2 separate regions of the Homo sapiens genome follow, and region 1 is linked to region 2. Evidence: promoter capture Hi-C in 16 types of primary human blood cells and fetal thymus (Javierre and others, 2016). All regions are on one chromosome and are shown on one strand. Each heading gives the region's core, a stretch centred on a gene start or on the middle of the fragment in contact. The rest is flanking DNA. Distances are from core to core; before and after follow the strand shown.

Evidence for each region. The method cuts DNA at HindIII sites, captures the fragments that hold promoters and counts their contacts. A CHiCAGO score of 5 or more calls a contact.
Region 1: a fragment that was not itself captured here is called in contact with the fragment with the promoter of SASS6 in region 2 in 4 of 17 cell types (megakaryocytes, M1 macrophages, monocytes and 1 more); the score reaches 13.7 in megakaryocytes.

What each region holds. Positions count from the first base shown.
Region 1 is chr1:100,873,028-100,879,089 of GRCh38, forward strand. It overlaps EXTL2 (exostosin like glycosyltransferase 2), which reads right to left. Exons shown (of 5, transcript NM_001033025.3): 3 at 4,449-4,876; 4 at 3,767-3,837; 5 at 1-1,403. The coding sequence ends at 915. Among named protein-coding and RNA genes, the nearest start is that of EXTL2, 19 kb to the right of the region's middle. The HindIII fragment of the contact is 1,449 bases long and covers 2,861-4,309 here.
Region 2 is chr1:100,129,928-100,136,161 of GRCh38, forward strand. It overlaps SASS6 (SAS-6 centriolar assembly protein), which reads right to left and starts at 3,003. Exons shown (of 17, transcript NM_194292.3): 1 at 2,823-3,003. The coding sequence starts at 2,887. TRMT13 (tRNA methyltransferase 13) reads left to right here and starts at 3,236. Exons shown (of 11, transcript NM_019083.3): 1 at 3,236-3,388. The coding sequence starts at 3,242. RefSeq lists enhancers at 961-1,010, 2,784-3,386, 2,791-2,910, 2,921-3,450 and silencers at 2,625-2,788, 4,926-5,220. The HindIII fragment of the contact is 1,832 bases long and covers 1,351-3,182 here.

The DNA.
Region 1 (6,062 bases), core at 2,335-4,834, 740 kb after region 2:
TGCTCTACCAATAAAGATCTTTTGATACAAAGGGTTTTAACTTCTGCCAGTTCTTACTCATTTTTTTCAGGTTTTTTATACATTTCTTAAACAACACATACATTATGTAAAATATAAGAATTAATGTACATTCTCAAGGTCAGATTCAGTGACAAAATGCACTACCCGAATCTAGTAACACATTTACTCCTTGCTGCATATAAGTGGCGTGTAAGAAATACAGGGTATATTGTTTTGTGATCCATGCAGTAAATGTTCACAAATATCAAGCAAACAACTAGACGTTCTTCAGCTACTAAAATTAACTGTCCCAGTCACAAAAGACTTAACAAAAATAAAAGCATGGATGGTTACATCAAAACCATGCTGGACTGAGTTCGTCCTGGAAGAGCTGGTTGGCAGGGCCACAAGGAAAGCACTGGCAGCTGCAAATTTTCCTCTTCATATGTGACTGAGACTATTCTCTTCTTACATGGCTTTACCCCATACCACAGGCTTTTGCTAAAGAGGCATTTCAGGTTTCAAATTAAAACAACTGACCTTTAGTGAAAAAGCAGAGAAATGCCTCTCTTGAGTTTCTGATCCTAGAAACAGCTTGCTATAGGTCCTTAAGGCAAATGCCAGGAGTCAAAGAAACTGTAGAACAGTCTCAGGATGTAAACAATAAAATCACTGACCAAGGAGTTATATCCCTGGATGAAAACTCTTCATAAGAAGACCTAACTGGATAAGACCAACTTCTTGGCTTTCAAAAGTAATGTGAATTTTATATCCTAGAAGCACTGCACTTTTTTTTCTATTGTAGAGACTTCTGGAGTAGATAAAATTCATGATGTTGCTTAAAAAAATACATAGCATGGAGAAGCTACTCAAATGCCAAGCAGTTTTCAGGTTTGTTTTTGTTTGTTTTACTTTTATATTTTTCTTTTGTAGTTGGCATATGGAAAACCAAACTGGGAAATCATAATGTTGGAGTATCTTAAGGGCATGCTATCATAGATATTAACAAGCTTATTTATACAATAAGACCTCTGCAGAGCGTGCTCAGCTCGATGCCACATTCCAGAATAGCCACTGTTGGTTTCTTTTTCCAAATTGTCCATGTTTACAGGCTTCACAAATATCCCTGAAGTCTTGCCAATATGCTTGGCAATGATAAAATTCATGGCAATATCATCACAGTTTTGAGTATCATCTATCAAAGCATGGACAGCTGCAGGTTGCCTCTGAAATAATTCAAGATATTTGCTATTGAAGAATGAGGCTCCAATCAGCACCATAGAGTACTGGTCACCATTTCCAGACCCTGGTGCTTGCATTTCAAAACTTCCATAACTGTAGATACCTGATGAAGTAGAGACGTGCTTTCTAGGAACAAATCCTACAATTTGATCAGGAAATTGCTGAAAAGAGGGAAAAAGAACAATAAAATGTCACATATTTTTAGAGAAGACATAGTGAAAAAGGCAATGATTTATTACAGAGAGAATGAAACTGATTTGTCAACTCTTCCTTATTCCTGGTTTCTACATTTCAGTTTTATCTAGCTCCAGGTAACTTCATAAATCTGTGTTCTGATATGTTTACAGGTCAAATGGCATCACAACCCAAACATCTCTGAAAACAAATATTCTACCCTTACAAATGTTCTCCTAATTCAAACATTATCTGACATTAACAAATTCCAGTCACCAAAGAGTCCAATCCTTCAAAATGTGCTGCGAGAAAAGTTGACTGCCTGAATGCTATTTGTTGTAGGAAATAAGAGATAATGGGATCGTTTTGAAAATTTGTTCTAATCTCTTAGGAGTATATAAAATTATGGACCTACATGTGTGATTGTCTCTTTTTCATGTTGATTTCGATGTTCATAAAAATTACTGTTGATTTTAAACAATGTTATATTTATCCCATTTCAGCTTGGGTGTTTCTTTTTTTAAAAAATGAGATAATATAAATAAATGTTTATACTTATCTATATAACATAAATGTTTATATTATGTATATGTGAGAGAGATGCATCAGAATCTTTGATGAAAGGATAGATGGTAGATGAGCATGACTAAAAATAAAACAACAATCAGCAAACAAAAGAAAAACACTGAAGCATGGGAAAGAGGTAAGAATTTATAGGGTTGAAAGTTTCATTCACTCATAAATAATTTGAGTTTCATTCATTTATTGAACAGATGCAGAACTAGGGACACACACACACACACACACACACACACACGAGGCTGAGTTAAATGCTATTTCAAAGCACTTATAGTCTAGAGAGGGTAGAGGGGTATAATATGGATATGCAAACAAGGAAATACAATACTGTGAGAAAGTTGTTTTAAGTGCAGCTGGGTAAATTCAATGGGCACATTGAGGGTAGAATGACAACTGTGTTGCTGGGAGGCAAAGGGGAAGGTCAGGGGATGGGGGATAAAGGCTGGGAGGTTTCAGAGAAGATGCGCTATTTATACAATCTAGGAGAATGAAAGAAATTTCACAATTGGCTAGAGAGGGAAAAGGGAAAACACTAAAAGTGGAGGTAATGGGCAAATACAAAGACACAGATGAATGTCTACTCGAATCTTGCTTGCTTATACACAAACCTCAGATCATTATGCTATGCAGGGTTTGGGTTGGACTGAATTTAAGTTGGTCAATGGACTGAAATTGTTTTTGATATTTTTAAAAATAAAACCTGAAATCATATTTATATATCTTTAATTTATAGTTTACTCAGATGGTTCCAATTAACCACAGTCCCCATATTCTGCCTCCATTTTTACATTTTGGGCAAATGGATTTTTAAGCATCAATAGAAATCTCACAGTTGAATTATCACATTAGAACTTTTTGTCCAAGAAGCTTTCATGTATTTCATTTCATTCCAAGGACTGGAAAAAAAAATTGTTGATATGGAAAAATTTCGTTGGTCAGCACACTAGGCATGAAATTAAAAACTGAAGTTTTAAAAATGCTGATATCTGCTGAGTATTGTGATCACTTACCATTAATATCGAATGCTGTTATATCCCAAGAAGCTAATTTTAAAAGTTACCATGGCATAAATTCGATCATTTACTGGGTAGCACAGTGTTTAATTATTTGACACGGCTTCGAAGTACTTCCATGCAGTTCCGGTTTCAGGTAATGGCAGTGCAACTTGTAAAAGTTAGCTATTACTAACACATATTCAATAGGAGAGAGCGGCTTTTATAGGATACTGACCAATTTATGCCTGCTTATTCAAGCTATGATTTAGGAAAAAACAAAACAAAATAAAACAAAACCCTCCTACCACAATGGTACATGTAAAATTATTACTGCAAAATTTCTAAACAATGCTCTCAGAACCAGGATTAAATTTTGTGGAGGTAATAAATACTTCCTTTTACAAAAAGTTATACACATTATTAACATAGAAATAGGCTTATCATTTGAGACACATGTCTGTGGTCTAGGCAAAACATCTCCTCATTCTAGTTTTTGCTGGACCACATCATTTCCCCATTGTTCTCTGGAAGGCAGTTCTAGCTCTTTTCCCCAATACACCAAAATATAAATTAAATCTAGATAAAAGATACTATAACTTTCAGGATGGCTGAACTAAGCTCAGAAAATCTTGATTAGCCTATAACAAATTCATCCATCTTTTAGATAAATATTATCTAAAATATTTTAGGTAACTTCTATATTAACCATGTTGCCGTGGTTAAGTACTAGTCAAGATCTTATAAAGACGGTTTCATAAAAGAGACAGCAACATTACCTGCCAAACTGAGAAAGCAAAAACAAGGTCTGGGGTGCTGATGAGTGTGTCATCATCTACCATCAACACTGCTAAAATGAAAGGACAAAAATTTAAGTTGAATAGTTCGGAAATGAAAACAAAAGTAGTAAAATACAATAGTGTCTATATAGATCATTCAAATGAAGTATTTTCTGACCCAACAATAAATAAGCAATGTATTCTTGGGGAGATTTGTCCAGTAGAAAATAATTTTTTTGGTATCATAACTGATTGTATAACTGCCTGAAGGGAAAATAATCAAGCAGTTATTATCCATCATCCTAGAAACTATTGGGCCTATAAATGAATAAAGCCAAGATTCTTTTAAGCAAATTGCAACCTCATGAAACTGTCAGGAATGGGAGGAAAAGAGGAGTGGCAAAAAAATATATTAAGCATAAGCTAAATGGCATCTTACTATCAACTGTAATGCAATCATATGTAATTATAGCATATCCTTTATTACAATATTAACCTCTTCGCCAGGAAACCACTTCTTGACATCTTGGAAATTGTCCCTCAAGCTTTCCAAAGTGCTTTCTTAGGACTAACTTCCTTCATTTTTCTCCAGACGGTTAAGCAGAAGGCCAGAAATTCACATGTCTGTCCCAGCTCTGGACAGCGGCAGCCTTTCCAGGCTGAGAACTACACTGCAACTCACCATTGGTTTCCAGTTCAGGAAAGACCTGGAGTCGATTTCTCATCCTGTTTGCTGTCTGTTGTTTGAAGATCACAGGGATAGGGTGGGGCCCTAGAGAATTCCATAATTCATCTGGTGCCTTCTCTCCAATATTGTTCCATACCACAATCACTTTGTGCAGATTTGGTACAGCCTGATAATGATTTAAAAGTTTCAATAAGAGATCTGTTCTGTTGTACGTCTGCATTATGAGAGTAAAGGAGTCCATGGTGGACTTGCCCTGGGATTTTATTTCCCTACGCAACATGAGCATCTTGTCTTCTTTAACACTGGGAAGTAAGGCAGTCAAAGCACCAGCTACCAGTAATAATACGAGGATGACCACCAAAGATAATCGAAGCACTCGAATCCCCATTACTCTCCCAGGAAGTTTGCAGATGTGGCAACACCTGGAGTAGAAATGGAAACAACATACAAATGTTAGCATTCTTACGAGTCCCTGTGTTTTCATGTTTTTTTCCAATGAGGAAAGATATCAATCTTATTTTAGTTGATTCAAATTCAGTTCTCCCTTCCTCCTCAATAAGGTAATTTGGCCTAAGAGATTTTAAAAAACCAGTTTAATATTCCCTTCCTTCTTGCCCTGCTTGTTACGCAGTTGCAGACAAAAGATGTTATACACACAAAATTGGAAAAATTAAGCATTTAAAAATTTGCCATCATTTTATCACTATATCTCCAGAACTGAGATTATTTTTCAACTGGGATTTTATTTCCCTTAGTAATATATTAATTTCGAATCTACACTTCTGTAGTAGCAGACTTTTTCCCAAACAAAATCATACAGAGCCATAATACATGAGGCAGCAAACAATTATGGTAGGTGTATTACTTACCAGCCCTGTACTATGTGCTTCATATACCACAGTATGTACTTACTCATTCAACAGATAGTTCCTGAGCACTTACTTTGTGCCACCACTGTTCCAGGTTCTGTGGATACAGCAATTAATGAGATACAAAAGGTGTCTGCTGTTAGTAGCAGAGGAGATGATAGGGAGAAACAGATAACACAATAAACAAATTCAAAAGATAATCTGGGGTAGCGGGTATGAAGAGAATCTGTTTATAAAAAGAATAAATCAGAATAAGCAAGGGCCAGATTATGTGGGACCTCTGACCCTCATTAGAGTCTGGATTTTACTATACGCCAGATGAGAAGCCATTGGAGAGTTCTTGGATCTAATTTATTATTTATTATTATTATTCCCATTTAATAGTTTAGATGCTTACAGAGATTACATGCCCTTCCCAAGATTACCAAGTAATTTCAGTAATAGTGCTAGGATTTCCAACAGGAAAATCTGCCCCGAGAGCCTAGGTTGTTCATGGGCTTGGGGGTGTATTGCCTGGCTTTACATCCAGGTTGAACTGAGGCACAGCCCTACAGCTTCCACAACTCGATCTCTCACAGTACAAATCACAAGGTATTATTATCAGCTATGTACTCTCCCATCTTCCTTATTGTACCTAAAGGGTCTTCCAGAGATAGCCATAGAACAGTAGTGAACAAATTGATAAGTACAGTCTAGCTATCCACTGTCAAAAAATTTTGTGTAATCAAATCCCTTGCTT
Region 2 (6,234 bases), core at 1,753-4,252:
ACTTTATGCATTTGTCACACATTAATACCTAAAATTTAGTGAACATTTATTATGCTCTAGTCACTGTTGTAAGCAGTTCATATGTATAATTCATTCCATTCTCATAATACCATGAAGTAGGTACTGTTATTACCATCAACTTAAAGATGAGACACAGAGAAGGAAATTGTACAAGATCTGTCAGTAAGTGGAAGAACTGGGACTTAAACCCAGGCAATCTGGCTCCAGAGCCTGAACTCCTAATCTGTGCTATGGTGCCTGTTCAAGGAAAATCTTATTTCCCCTATTAAAATGTGAGTTCCTTGAGGGACAGAATGAAAAGAGGTTTTTGTTGGCTTTTGTTGTTGTTGGGGACGGAGAGGGGGGTGCGTATTTACATCCTCCACACTTAGGACAGTTCCTGAGACACAGCAGACATTTGCCAGTATTTGTTGAGCTGAACTGGCCTCAAATACTCAACCAAGGCGTCTGGGCTGGGCGTGGTGGCTCACGCCTATAATCCCCGAATTTTGGGAGGCTGGGGTGAGAGGATCACTTGAGCCCAGGTGTTCAAGACCAGCCTGGGCAATACAGGGAGACCCCGTCTCTTTTAAATTAAATTAACAACAAAAAAAAGCCAGGCGTGGTGGTATGCGCCTGTAATTGCAGCTACTCAGGAGGCTAAGGTGAGGGGAACCCTTGGGCCCAGGAGGTCAAGGCTGCAGTGAGCTGTAATCGTGCTACAATACTCCAGTCTGGGCAACAGAGCGAGACTCTGTCTAGAAAAAAAAAAAAAAAGAGAGAGAGAAAGAGAGAGAGTCTGGGTTGTTCTTCCTATAGGTCAAGGATCACCAAATTATTCTGTAAAGGGCCAGATAGCAAATATTTTAGGCTTTGCGGGCCATAAGGTCTCTGTCACAATTACTCATCTCTGCCCTTCCTGTGCAAAAGCAGCTACAATATGTAAACAAATGAGCATGGCTGTATTCCAAGAAAAGTTTATTTACGAAAACAGTGAGCCAACTGGCCCATGTGCTCCAGTTTGCTGACCCCTATTATACAGATAATAGGAATATATTAAAGGTTTCTAAGCAGAGAAATTGAGTTTTTAGATTAACTGTGATGGCAATGTAACCAGAAAGAGACCATCTAGGAGTTTCCATATTGAAACCAAAGTCATGGCCTCCTTTATCTTTCTATAATCATTCTAAAACAGTGTTGTCCAATGGAGATACAATGTAAGCCACAAATGTGAGCCAGGTATGTAATTTTAATTTTTTTCTTTTTCTTTTTTTTTTTTCAGAGACAGGATCTCGCTCTATCACCCAGGCTGGAGTACAGTGGCACAAATAGTAGCTCACTGTAACCTCAAGCTTAGGCTCAAGCAATCCTCCTGTCTTGGCCTCCTAAAGTGCTGGGACTACGGGTGTGAGCCACCATACCTAGCCTACTTTTAAATTTTCTAGAAGTCACATTTTAAAAAGACTTTTAAAAGCAGGTGAAATTAATTTTAATAATACATTGTATTTAACCCAATATACCCAAAAATATTGCCATTTAACACATAATATAAAAATTGACATATTTTACATTCTTTTTTCATAGTAAGTCTTAAAAATCCAACGTGCATTTTCATATGTAAAGCACAACAATTCAGATAAGCCCCATTTCAAATGTCTAATAACCACATGTGGCTAGTGGCTACCATACTGGACAGCATTAAAAGAATGATCAACTAAACCTACAGATCTCCATATGCAGCTGCTGGTTTTGGGACCATCTCCTTGACCGGCTTGCCATTGATTTTTGACCGAATTCTGAACTATATATACTACAGTTTGACATTACTGGCAACTCAATAAGGCAATGTCTTCATTTTTTATGTTACATTTGTACACCACTTAGTTTTCACATACGATTTCACACCTGATCCTCATTACAAACACGTGAATACGCAAAAGATTTCACACCTGATCCTCATTACAAACACGTGAATACGCATGTTATATCAGTTTTACAAATGAGGAAAGAACGTTCAGAGAAAAAAAGAGACAACCATTGAGTGTTAGAACTGAGAAAAAAAAAGTAAGTCTCCTGACCTCTGGTCAAATCTATTTACGCCCCAATAATACCACCTCCTTAATCAAAGTTGCACTTCTCTGTGCGACTGGTCTTTATTTCCTCCAGTGATTGTAAACTCCATGAAGAAAAGGACTGTTTTTCCTGACCACTGTATTCCCAGTGCCCAGTAAGGTGTTTTACAAGGAGGCAATATTTATTGAATGAATTAATGACGTTTCTGCTTTTCTCATTTTTAGTCGGTTAAATGTAATTTACTTTTTTAAAGCAACTGATGTGAAGAGCCAAAGTACGCCACCAAATTGGTAGGTTTTTAAAAGTTGAACTTTACTGCCAACATACTTCAAAAGAGAACGAGGGGGAAAGGCTCGGAGCCAAGGCCTGAGTTCTAGTCCTGACCCTGCCATGAACTGGCTGTGAGCCCTCACGTAAATTTTTTTAACTTCTCTGGGCCAGAGTTCTTATCTGTCAAAAGGGAAGAGTAGGGCTATAATCTTCACGATTCCGTGCACAGGTAGGGTTTTTGACATTAACTTGATGTGAGCCGGCTTCCTAACTCCTCACACCCTTCCTCCAGTCCCCTCTGCAACGGCCGACTTGGTGAGAGAGGTAACCACCGGGCCCTCTGGGTTCCCTATCCGCTTCCTAGGGGGGCCGACTCGACACCTAGGTGCAAGGTGGATCCCACGGGCCAGAACCGCCATCTTTCCCCATTGGCCTGACCCCAACCGCCACCCGCGGGCACTGGATGACGCGGACCTTACCTCTCCTCACAGTCTTTGCATTTCACCTGCAACGGGACTAGTTGGTGGAACAGCACTTGGCTCATGTTGGCTCGCTGCCTCGGCTGGTGTGCAGAAAAGCCCAACAGGCCCGGCCCTCGGGATTAGCCTGAGAGGTCCGGGTCCTGATAAAGTTTGAGTTTGGCGCTCGGCTTCTGCGGAGGAGGCGGGGAGGGAGAAACGAGGGGAAGGCGTAAGAGACTTGGCCCTCGCCAGCCACCATCGGATTCTTCCGGTTCTGCGGAGGATAAAGGGAAGACGGTTGTGGTAGTTCCGGGTATTAACCTGTGTGGCGCGGGGGCTGAGGCAGCCATGTTTGTTAAGGGAAGGAGACCCGAAGGAAGCTTCTAACTTTTCTTCTGGTTGCCGGATGCTGGACACCGGAAGCGAGCCCTAGAATTATGGCGACCTCCGCGACGTCGCCGCACGCGCCTGGTTTTCCAGCTGAGGGTAGATGCGGTTACTATGTGGAAAAGAAGAAACGGTTCTGCAGGATGGTGGTGGCCGCAGGGAAAAGATTTTGTGGTGAACACGCTGGAGCCGCGGAGGTGTGGTATCGCCCTACTCTCTCAAGAGTCGGAAATAAGTATCCTGGTCCTGTCGGTGCTGGAACCCGGCCCCTCCCCTCTTTGACAGCTTTCTGCTTGTGTCCCCTGGATTCTCCAGCTTTCACTTTAATAAACCCAGTTTTGCCCTCCTTGCGGAGCGATTATGAGTTCTAGTGATGAGAAATTTTTTATTTTTCTAAGTAAAGCGCCAGCAGTGACCCATTTATTTTGATCTATTTATCTCGATCTTAACTCATGGTAATGCTAGGTTTTAATTTTTACCCCAAGCTACCGCTCCGTCTTCCTGCTGGAAAGTGGTAGTTTAGAAAAAGTAGTGATTGAAGTCCCAAAGGTTTCACTAGTTGTGTTCTAATTGTTATTTCATGAAAGAGAAGCACTTCTCGTGAATGCGGTTGGAAGAAACTTTCTTTTAAAAATTTAGACTTGAGGCCCGGCGCGGTGGCTCACGCCTGTAATCCCAGCACTTTGGGAGGCCGAGGCGGGCGGATCACTTGAGGTCAGGAGCTCGAGACCAGCCTGGCCAACATGATGAAACCCTCTCTCTACTAAAAATAAGAAAATCAGCCGTGGCGCGAGCTACTAAAATTAAGAAAATCGTGGTGGTGCGAGCCTGTAACCCCAGCTACTCGGGAGGCTGAGGCAGGAGAATCGCTTGAACCCAGGAGGTGGAGGTGGCAATAATCCAAGATCACACCACTGCATTCCAGCCTGGGTGACAGCCAGACTGAATCTCAAAAAAGAAAAAAAAATTTTTTTCGACTTACAGTTTTTAAGAATGCAACTTTGCTGGAATGGGAAGGAAAGATTTTTAAATATATACGAATTGACCTTTTACAATTGAGAACAAAGCATACAATTTTGTTTGATAATTATGCATATAAATGTACTATCAAACACTTTATATTTGTATATATGTATATTACTTTAGGATATATATGAGATGGGAAAATAAAAACCAGAGGAGCAAAATGCTCATAGGAAGAGAGCATGTCCTTATAGTTCCACAGAACTATAAAGAATAAACCAAAGCGATCAGCATCAGATTTCATGCTTCTGAATGTTCAGTATTATTTGCATTATTTTATTTCTTAAGGAATTTATTCTTCTAGACAATATCCAGTGCAGATCAGTCCCCTGACCCCCTTCATCTGCCACTCTCCATCATAGTTGTAGTCTACTTCCTATTTTGTTTTGACTGGCATTTACCAAAAGTGAAGCATACTGAAACAAGGACATTCTTGTTTTGGAATATGGGAGACGTGATTTGTTGTGGGAACTCTGAATTATGCCCATAGTCTATTGACTGGTTTTGAGGGGACTGGCAAACATCCCTTGTTGAAGAATGAGAGTTATGATAGGAGAAGGATTTAGACTCCACCTTATCCAGATATATGGAAGGTGAAAACAAATAGTGATGATAGTAGAATATGAATAAATCCTTACAAGCTGATTAGTATTCCTATAGAGGAACGACATATTGTCATTAGACACTTGAAGAGAGACCGCAAAACATCAAGTGGAAACACTTTTATTGACTACTATCTCGTTTTAAATTGTGGCTATCCTCCTGAATCTGTAATTTATGATGTAACTGGATGTTGTGTTTCCATCTTTTTTTCTAAGTGTCATATATAGCTGTGATGACACCACTCATTTTTACCCAGTGGTTCTCGACTGGGACTGATTTTGCCTCCAGTGAACACTTGGCAAAATGAAGACATTTTGGTTGTCAAACTGAGGAGTATCACTGACATCTAATGGATAGAGACCAGAAATGCTGCTAAACCTCCTACAAATCACAGGACAGCCCCCTGCACTCACCCCCTCAAAAGAATTACCTGCCCAAAACGTCAATAGTGCCAAGATTGAGAATTCCTGTTTCTAAATTCAACTAATAAATTTTAAATGTGCTTTTTTTTTCCTATGCTACAGTTAGGCTCTGGGGGTTAGAATAGTCTTTTACATGGAGGTTAGGATTTAAAGTCAGCAATAAGGAAGAAATTATATACAGTATTTTCTTTTTCTTCTATTGAATATATAGTATTTTCAAAAAAAAAATTTCTTAGCTTTCCCATGAAATTCAGTGTGAATAGCTTCATGGACATGCTGAGAGGCACATTCGAACAGAAATAAATTTTTAAAAGAATAATAATAGCAGACACTTAGTCACCACTTACTCTATGTACAGCACTGGGCTAGGCAGTTTTGTTTTGTTAACTATTAGCTCACTTAATGTGTTCAAACCTTAGAAGGTAAGACATATTTTTGTTCTCATCTTTCAGATGAGGCAGTAAGCCTACCTAACTAAGGTCATAGGGATCGTAGCTGGTAGGTAGAGCTGGGTATCATACCTAGGCAGTCTGGCTGGCCTGTGTTCTTAACTGTTATATGACCCCTATTTATACAGATTCATGTGGAATATTGGGTAGAATTGCCAACATTATCAATTTTCCTTTCTTTTTTCCCAGTTCATATAGTCATGTGCCACATAATGACATTTCAGTCAACAACAGACCGCATATATGATGGTGGTCCCATAAGGTTATAATACTGTATTTTTACTGTACCTTTTCTATGTTTAGATATGTTTAGATACACAAATACTTACATTGTGTTACAATTGCCTACAGTATTTAGTATGGTAACATGCTGTACAGGTTTACAGCCTAGTAGCAATAGGCTATACTATATAGGCTAGATGTACAGTAGGCTATACTATCTAGGTTTGTGTTACTATACTGTATGATGTTCTCCCAATGACAAAATCACCTAAAGATATATTTCTCAGAATGTATTCCCAGTCATTAAGTGATGTAACTTAGGAA